2 separate regions of the Homo sapiens genome follow, and region 1 is linked to region 2. The links are contacts of gene promoters, found by promoter capture Hi-C in human tissues and cell types (Jung and others, 2019). All regions are on one chromosome and are shown on one strand. The core of a region is centred on a gene start or on the middle of the fragment in contact, and the rest is flanking DNA. Distances in the headings are between cores, read along the strand shown.

Region 1 (4,547 bases), core at 997-3,496, 990 kb after region 2:
AGACATATTTTGGAGTCATCTATTTATAAATGGTATCTAAAGCACAGGACTAGGTAAACTCACATAGGGAGGGTGGATAGAGAAGGTGACTCAGAACAGAACCCTGGACACTTTGATAATTATAGATTGAGAAGCCAATTAAGAAGCCCAAGAAAGGATAATGAGTGAGGTAGCAGAAGGACCCAGAGTGTGTGGTGTCAGAAAACAAGAGAAGAAAGTGTTTCTAAGTGAGAGTGGTTGGCTTTGATAAAACAGTGTTGAGAGGGCAAGTAAAATAAAAACAAGAGATCAAAGAGACCACTAGATTTGCATGGAGATTGCAGTTTCAGTGGTATGGTGGGGGAGAAAATACAGCAAGTTTATATGTTGATGGGAATTATCTGGTAGAGAGGGAGTGACTGTAGATTCAAGAGAGACATAACACAGGATAACATCCATAGGAAAAAAATGAAAGCACTGGCTAGAATGAGGACACTTTATCCATCTACCAGACACCAGCTTCTTGACACTTCATTTGTCTTATTTGTATCTCTAGTAGCTCCTAGTAGAGCGCCTAGTACATAGAAGATATTCAAGAAATGTTATTGAATGAATAAATGAACAAAGGGAGGGGTGGATGAATGGATGAAGAGATGGATGAATGGCAGATGCAGGGTAGAAGGAGGAACTAGATCAAACTAATCCAAAGTTCAGAGTAAGGAAAGAAGAATGGGTCTTGAATTAATAGGGTTTCCTCAAAACTTAGGGATTCTTTGTCCCGGCGCGGTGGCTCACCCCTGTAATCCCAGCACTTTGGGAGGCGGAGGTGGTGGGAGGATTGCTTGAACCCAGGAGTTCGAGACGAGCTGGGCACCATGGAGACTCTTTTCTTTAAAAAAAGAAAAAAAAATTAGGGATTATGGGATTTTTCTCTGGGATGGGGTGGCAGATTTCAATCTCAGATGAAGGTGGGAAAAGGAATGAGACCGTCAATGGCAGTGGCGTTAGGCAACTTTCAAGGCATCTAACTACTTAGCCACTTTCTTTGTCTTTCCTGTCCGGACCCAGGCTCATTTGAAAAACGATTATGTACCTTTATGGACAGAAATGGGAGAAGGGCTTTAAAAAAAACGACCGTCCTGCCGGGAGTGGTGGCTCACGCCTGTAATCCCAGCACTTTGGGAGGCTGAGGCGGGAGGATCAAGAGGTCAGCAGTTAGAGACCAGCCTGGCCAACACGGTGAAACCCCGTCTCTACTAAAAATACAAAAATTAGCCGGGCAAGGTGGCACGCGCCTGTAATCCCAGCTACTCGGGAGGCTGAGGTAGGAGAAGAGCTTGAACCTGGGAGGCGGAGGTTGCAGTGAGCCGAGATCCCACCACTGCACTCCAGCCTGGGACAGAGCGAGACTCCGTCTCAAAACAAAACAAAACAAAACAAAAAAACAAAACGACCGTCCTACACTCATTTATCCATCAGGTCAATGGATACTTACTGAATGTTAATCTTGTATAGGAGCACAGGTGTAAGGGCAGGATTATACAGGGATGAATTCGATACAGGGATGATGTATTCGTTTCCCTATTTGTTCATGAGTCTGTTTTTAAGTAATCTGTCCTCTCTTGAATGTCAAAAGCTGCTGATTTCACGAACGGTACATGGAAGATGGTATTTGAACTGGGTCGCATAGTCTTGCTGGGACTCCCGTGGAAGCGAACGGGGACAGCGGCTGCCGCAGCTTGTGCAGTGGAGCTGGCAGACGCTGGAAGCAGGCCAATCTTGAAACGTAGGGTCCAAGGCCGGCTCCAGCGTGTTGTGGTCGTTTCATCAAGAAGGAATTAGCATTCCTATTATCTTTCTTCCCAACTTGCAGCAGGACGAACCAAGAGACCTGAACCAAGAGCCCTGTATAGGAGGGGGTGAGCGGAGTTGGGAGCCAGCTTTGGGGTCCGCCCCATCCGGATCCGCCATCCTACGTCGCCCGTGGAACTACGTTCCTGAGGGCTTCCGGCGTTGCCTAGCAACTGCCGGGCCCCTAGGGCGTCCAGCGGCCCAACTGGAGTGGAGCCGAGTGTCGCCCTTGGGAAAGCAGGTAGAAGAACTGCGTCAGTCCCGCCAGTGCTGGGCCCGGGCCGATTACACGTGGACTCACGCGAGCCGTCCTCACAGCCCGCCGCCGCCAGCGGGAGGGGCCCGGCGGCGCCAATGGGCGGGCGGCAGGGAGCGCGCGTGCGCAGGGCAGGTCGGGGGGGGGGGGGGGGCGGGGCGAAGCCGAGGAAGAGCGTTTTGGGGACGGGGGCTGGTGAGGCTCACGTTGGAGGGCTTCGCGTCTGCTTCGGAGACCGTAAGGGTGAGTGAACTAGCGCACTCTCCGCAGCGGGCGGGATCCCGGCGCCTCTCCTGTGGGCTGGAGGCTTGGGCTCAAGATGAGAGGCAGGAGTAGTCTGGGGGCGCGGGCTGGGCCCCCAGGCCGTCTCGGGACGCTTAACCGGCTAGGAGCACGGCCTGTCTCCCGGGGCGGAAGCCTGTGCCCCACCGGGGGCTCTGGAGCCAGACGGGGCCGACTGGGCAGATCTCCGCCCCCTTCCCTGGTCCCTAGGGGCCCGAGGATCGGCCTGTGGGACCAGCTGTGTCGGGTGGACACTGCTCCTGGCCCGGCCCAAAAGCAGCGGGCCGGAAGCCTTACTCTCCCTCTGCTCCTTGTTCCCTCTCTCGGGGAGACCACAGGTCCTGTCGGGCCCGGCGGGGGAAGCTGATCTCCTGTTGTATTCCCTCTCTGGGCATGGCCATCCACCCGGGTGCCCAAGCCAGAATTGGGCATCATTCTCACTTGCTTCACTCCTTTACCCACCCACATCGAATCCCTTGCAAAGTTGTCTTGGATACGTTCATTCTCCAGTCCCATCCCCCTGCCCTACCTAGTTCAGGCCACCTTTTCTTCTCTGGACTACCTCGGTGTCTTCCTGATGATCCCTGCATCTCTTCTTCATCCTCTGTAGTTTGTTCTATACAGAGAGGCTACAGCCATGGTCTTAAAACAGAAATCTGATCATGTGACCAGAAGCGTCCCCCCATTCCCTTATCACCCTTTGGTGGATTCTCATTGCTCTTCCAAGCTCTTGAACGGGGCTTGCAAAGCCCTTCATGACCTGTCTTCCTTTAACTTTAGATTCATTTGTCTCGACTGTACTGTGTCTTCAACCATACTGAATCTTTTTTGGTTCTTAGATCAGAACAAGTTCCTTCTGGGCTTACATGTTCCTTCAGTATGTTCGCTATGTCTGAGGCACTGTCCTTTGGTTGAAATAATCCTTCTTATCCTTTATGTGTTATTTCAGGTGTCAGTTGGGGATTTCGTGGTACCCCATGGGTGTCTGCCTGCCGGTCTCTCTTTTCTACCAGGTTGTAATCTGTGTGAGAGGAGTTTGTCGAGGTCATAGTACTATCTTCAGTACCTTGTGCTGTTAGTACGGTCATTAAATGTATAAATGCAGCATGGGTGCTCCTTGGGCTCCCTAGATGAACAAATAGATCAAGTTATTAATATTAAATGCCTGCTTTTTCAGAACCAATTCTCAACCCTCAGTCCGTGTAGAGGTTTCTTTAGCTTAGGAAGTTGGTTATTTTCTTGCCTTCATTCCAGGACCATGACAGGGGTAAGTGACAAAGTACTGGTCAGTTTTTCTTTGGCATTGGCTGTGGGTACAGGATGTCTGGATGTTGGTGAGTTTGGCTGCTTTGGGTTTGAATTCTTAACCAAGGGCCCCTTGAGGGAGAAGCTGCTACTAGCTGCTGGCAGGAAGGCTGGCCCCAAACTTAGTGCTGATAGGACTGATGACACACCAGGAAGAAAGGGTTGGGCCAGGTCAAACCACTGGAAGCCTCCAAAGGAAGTTCCAGCTTAGGCTAGATCCGCTGTGGGATAGGGAACAATACACCTAGGTGCCAAGACTCACTTCCCTGATTCAGCGATGAGCCAGGTCAGCTCAGCAGAGATCAGTAAGGTAAATGAGAGCCAGAGGAGAGAGGGTCCTGACTCTCAGAGAGGGAGGAAAAGAGAAAAATGGAAAAGGAGAACAACCTGTGATCGTATGTTCAGGTCAAATGAGTGTGAGAGGCTACAGACTGAGGTCGGATGAGAGAGCAATTGGTCTTGGCTGGAAGAATCCTGAGGTGACATTTGAACCTGTCCTGGAAGGAAGTTGGAGATGGACAGATGGAACCAGTAGGAGCGGAGGCTGTGGTACAGGAAGAGGCTGGCAGAGCAGGAGGGGAGCACTGTGACAGCCAAGGCACTGGGAGGCGCACTGCTCCTGATGGTCCAGCACTGCCCTCCCAGGACTGAGGCTGCGCCTTGTGAGGGCTGTCTCAAGGTATGGGTTGTGCCCTGAAGTCCCTTTGCAGAAATTTCTCCTCCGTTGGGTTTTTCTTCAGCCTGGCCTTTATAATTTCCTAAAGAAGGCCAGTGAGCTGGGGCTTATCTTCAGGCTGTTAGCCCATGGCCTTGAGCTAAGTAGTTAGAGCATGGATGATGCAACCTGTTATTTGGGTAGAGGGAGTTGCTTATG
Region 2 (4,569 bases), core at 2,070-4,569:
CCCACCCCTAAAAGAAATCCTTTTAAATTTTTCTCCTGTTTTCTAACATATATAACTTTTATGACAGCTAATTGACAGAATTATTTACTAATATAGGTGGATCTGCCTATGGATAAAACCTTCCAGGATATTTTGGGTTCTCACCAGAACTCAAAATACTGTCTACAATGCTTCTGAATGGAAAGGGCCCTGGATTGGCAGACAGTGGCTTTGCTACCAAATAGTTATAGTTTTGTCACCTCCCTTCTTTGGAGTTTAGTTTCCTAGTCTGTTGAATACAGAAATGAGATTTAATGATCTCCAAGGTCCGTCCTGACAACTCTTAAGTTCCACAATTGAGTTTGAACACTTTTACACAAAGATGACTTCAACATTTAATCCCTGAAATAAACTAAACATATGTAGAAACCAGTAATGTAGGGATAGGATAATATTTTTTAATATCTCCCAATAGGTGTTCCATTATTGTTAAACTGGGTTCTCTCTTGAGCACTTCATCAGCTATCACGGCTCCAAGAAAGGGAGCAGAAGAAATGCCAAATCTCAAAAATGAAGAGGATACGGTACAGAAGGAAAGTTCCTGACAAATGGGAAGGAGAAAAATCCATTCCTTAAAAACCCTGGGGCATGATGGAAAGAAGAAAAGGGTACAAGGAAGAGGTTAATCAGACTCAGTGTGCTTACTTTCCATCCCCTCTCAGGGTGGAAACTAGAATTGAGGGTATGTAGTTGACATATGCACAGAGACATAGGGAAATCCAAGAAAGTTGGAGATAGTGGTTTGCGTCCCTGGACATGTCTGTGAAACACTAAGACGTCTAGGAGTTCTACTTTCAGCCTGCCAGCATGTTCAATATGACATAAGGAGAAAAATGCAACATTGTTGGATAGTGGCTCAACAACTAGTAAGCCCAAAGCAAGGCTCCTGGCTCATCAAGGCCTACACGTGGTATTCGGGGAATCCAGAAGTACCCATGTGTCTCAGTGAGAACCATGAGGATCAAGGGACCTGTGGAGACTCGGGGTCAGTACAAAGAGGTTATAGTGTATGGGGCAAATGGCTCATGTATGGATTTCAGCAAAAGAAATCAGCCTCAAAAGTACAGAAATGACCAGTTTTATGAGTAATAAATGATAAACGACAGTGGCTGCCATCAGACAATACTAGCCACTCCACGCCAGAAGACAACATAAGGACTGGCATTAGTGGCTTAGATGCCCTTGTAAACCTCCCTATTCCTCAGGGATGCTACCACCCTACCAGTTACTCTGTGAATTTGAAAAAGGTGCTTCCTTTCTCAAGACACTTTACTACCATCTATCAGGAAATTGTCATAATATACTAATTTTGCTAAAACAAGGCATTTTACTGCCATATGTCAGAGAATTGTTGCAATAAACTTAGAAATCTAGGGTATGTAAAAGATACCCCTTATACCACATATAACAACCCTAAACCCCGCCCCTCCCATTAATATATTAGAAGGAGAGTTGGGGAAATAAAAGGTGAAAGCAGTTATGTTTTTTAAAAAATTGAGATGATGTGGGGACTTGAAGTTAAAATTACAGAAAATAAACAAGCTACATTTTCTTTACATCTGAATTAATGTAAGTAAAACTTCCACTCTGCCACACCAAAATACAAACTCTTTATGCCCAATATTTTCCTTTTATTAGTATTTCCCATAACACCTTATATACATATTAATGCATACACGGAAGGAGCCAAAAAGTACTTGTCAAATAAAAAAGTAAATTTTTAGAAAAATCAGAAATGATGGACACACTTATATGTATAACGTAATTTTCCTGTACTTTTACTTTTCCCCTATGTTTATTTGAACAAACCTAAAATTGTACCCATTTGCACCTAGCTAACCACCATAAAAATTTGGAGTTCTCCAGCTGTTTTGTAACAGCTGTCCTCCTCAAATATTTTTTTGAGAAACAAACATAGACCTACGTTTCTCTATTTTTCTGGACTAAAGAGAGATCATCTCAAAATCACAGAACTCTTAAAAATTGAAAACAGGATCATGTAGTCTAAAATAAGTTCTTATTTAAACTTGGGAGGTGAGGGGGGCGGGGCTGACATCTAGAAAGGTGAAGTACTTTGCCTGTAGTCACACACCAAGTCTGGGACTCAACACACAGGCTCGCCTCTTTGCGTCTCTCCCTCCTTCCAAAATACATTTTCCTCCCTCTCAAAAGCTTTATCACGCTTTGTAGTTGCTTAATTATCTATGTCAAACCTAGAGAGCAACTGATGACACTCAGAGACATCGCCCAAAGTTCTGAAAACCAGATAATCAGATAAACTGCCAGTTTTACCACATCCAAAAAATGCACAACAAAAGAGAGAAGGGGGAGAATCGAGAATACATTTTCAGCCGCAAGGCAATAAAAACACGTTTCCCTTGGAGAGAGATTATGTTGGGGGCATCAGGTATAAAGGTAATTCCTGTTGAGGGTTTTTCTTTTCCTTGCAGTTTGTGGGACCTAAAAAAAAAAAATTAAAAATTAAATCACATAAACAATCACAACATCAACACATTTACTTCTCTCCTCTCACATATTATTTTCCCACACATTGTATACACTTCTTCAAAGAACAAATCAAATTGGCCAAAGGTCAAAGCCTTTTCAAGGTTTAGATGATATACGATTAGGCACCGACTCCAAACTTCGCTTACCAAGCCCAAAGCTCGGAGACGGAAATCTTCAGGGTTTGCAAATACCCTCAGCTTGGCTAAAGGGCACGAAATCTCTAGCGCTCCCTACAGCTCAGATTTTGAACCCACCTACCACAGAAAACCCGAGTTACCAAAGATTGGCTCCCTCGTTCCACTTTTTTTTCAGCTCAAAAAAATCGGGTGAAGGTTGGGGTAGGGGGGAAGCTGAAACGGCGAACCGAAGGATTAATCACTTCTCCCCATTACATCAGCAACCCCCGCCCTTTCCTCCGAGCACCTCCTCTCCCAGAATCGTCGCTACGCACTGGCGCTCTCTTCGCCCACCCCCTGCTCTATTATTTGCCCTGATACCTCCCCATTATCACCCGCCCCGCCACACTCCCCCTTTCCTCTTTCCCCCTCCTAGGCGGGGGAGGGAGGAAACCCGAGAGAGGAAACAGGGCGTTGAAGGGACTTCGCGATAAGAGCGGAGGCCCCATTGGCCGGAAGGTTGTACGGGCGCCTTAGATTGGCCGCCTGGACGGAATCCCCGCCCCTCCTTTCCCCGCCCACCCACCCCTCCCCCCGCCGCCCCGCGGCCCTCCCCCGCGCCCCCGGCCAGCCCCGCGGCGGGGAGGGACCGACTGGGCGAGTGGAGGCTCCGGCGGTGTCAATGGCTCCTCCTGCCACGGAGCAGCAGCAGAAGCAGCGGCGACAGGGCTGACGAGGAGGAGGAGGAAAGGTTCCTTTAAGGAGGAGGAAGGACGACGCCTCTTTTTCCCCCTATCTCCTCCCTTCACACTCATTTCCCCTTCGCCGAGGAGAGAAGGGGGGGAGGAGAGAGAAGAGACCGAAGAAAGAGAGAAAAATTCCTCACAGAAATCTCTTTCAGGGGGTGTGGGGGGGAGGAAGAGGGAAAAAAAAGAGCCGGGCGCCCCCTGCTCCCTCCCTCCCTTCTCTCCCTCTCTTTTTCTCCCTTCCTCACCCGCCCGCCCACTCCCCCCGCTGCCGGAGACGCCGCTCGCGAGTCGGCGGGACCGGGATCTGTCTCTTCAGCCGCCGCCGCCGCCGCCGCCGCGCTTCGCCTCGGGATCCCCAAGCGGCGGACGCCCTTTCTTTCTTTCTCTCGGTCTGCCCGTCTTTCTGCCTTCGTCCCTCGCGGCCGCCCCGCCCGGCGGCTTCGGCCTTCCCCGTGCGTCAGGCCCTCCCGGCCGGCCTCGCTCGGTCTCCGTCTGTCTACCCGGGCCTTTCTCCGGACTCGGGGTCCCGCTCGCCCCCTCCGCCCTCAGCGTCTCCCCTTCCCCTCGCCCCCTCTCCTTCCTCCCCCCTCTCCCACTCTCCCCACCCCTTTCTCCTGCCCCGAAGCTCGCTGTGCGTGTGCGTGTGTGTGTCCCTCCGCCAACGCCGCCACCTCAGCCCGGCAAATGAACTCCGTCCGAGCCGCCAACCGGAGACCCAGGCGAGTGTCGCGGCCGCGCCCGGTGCAGCAACAGCAGCAGCAGCCCCCGCAGCAGCCGCCGCCGCAGCCGCCCCAGCAGCAGCCGCCCCAGCAGCAGCCTCCGCCGCCGCCGCAGCAGCAGCAGCAGCAGCAGCCTCCGCCGCCGCCACCGCCGCCTCCGCCGCTGCCTCAGGAGCGGAACAACGTCGGCGAGCGGGGTAAGGCCGCGCTACCTCCCAACCGCCCGCCTTCCCGGGCACCGCGGGAAGGGAGGCCGGGGCGGGCGGGCGGGCGGGCGGGCGGGGGCGGCCTGCGCGCCCTGGGGGTGGGAGACCCAAGCTGAGCGGAGGCGGGTCCCCCGGTGCCGCAGTGTCAGCCCGGGCCGGGCCCGGCCGGCAGGAAAAGCCGCGGCTTCCCTTCTCGCCTGGGCTCTCGCTCAGGCCGCGCTTTGTTTGGTTT

Evidence for each region. The method cuts DNA at HindIII sites, captures the fragments that hold promoters and counts their contacts. A contact is called where the count stands out against the background at its distance.
Region 1: a contact is called between the fragment with the promoter of MCFD2 here and the fragment with the promoter of FBXO11 in region 2, in 1 of the 25 tissues and cell types used here (hippocampus).

Annotation. Positions count from the first base shown.
Region 1 is chr2:46,913,505-46,918,051 of GRCh38, reverse strand. MCFD2 (multiple coagulation factor deficiency 2, ER cargo receptor complex subunit) reads left to right here and starts at 2,246. Exons shown (of 4, transcript NM_139279.6): 1 at 2,246-2,329. It also overlaps a transcript of TTC7A not described here. RefSeq lists an enhancer at 1,202-2,176 and a silencer at 2,180-2,259. The HindIII fragment of the contact is 16,990 bases long and covers 1-4,547 here.
Region 2 is chr2:47,905,248-47,909,816 of GRCh38, reverse strand. It overlaps FBXO11 (F-box protein 11), which reads left to right and starts at 3,319. Exons shown (of 23, transcript NM_001190274.2): 1 at 3,319-4,328. The coding sequence starts at 4,097. LOC100506235 (a long non-coding RNA gene) reads right to left here and starts at 4,267. Exons shown (of 2, transcript NR_187636.1): 1 at 4,018-4,267; 2 at 1,650-2,499. RefSeq lists an enhancer at 2,373-3,157 and silencers at 3,227-3,326, 3,817-4,006, 4,367-4,486, 4,497-4,546. The HindIII fragment of the contact is 7,202 bases long and covers 1-4,569 here.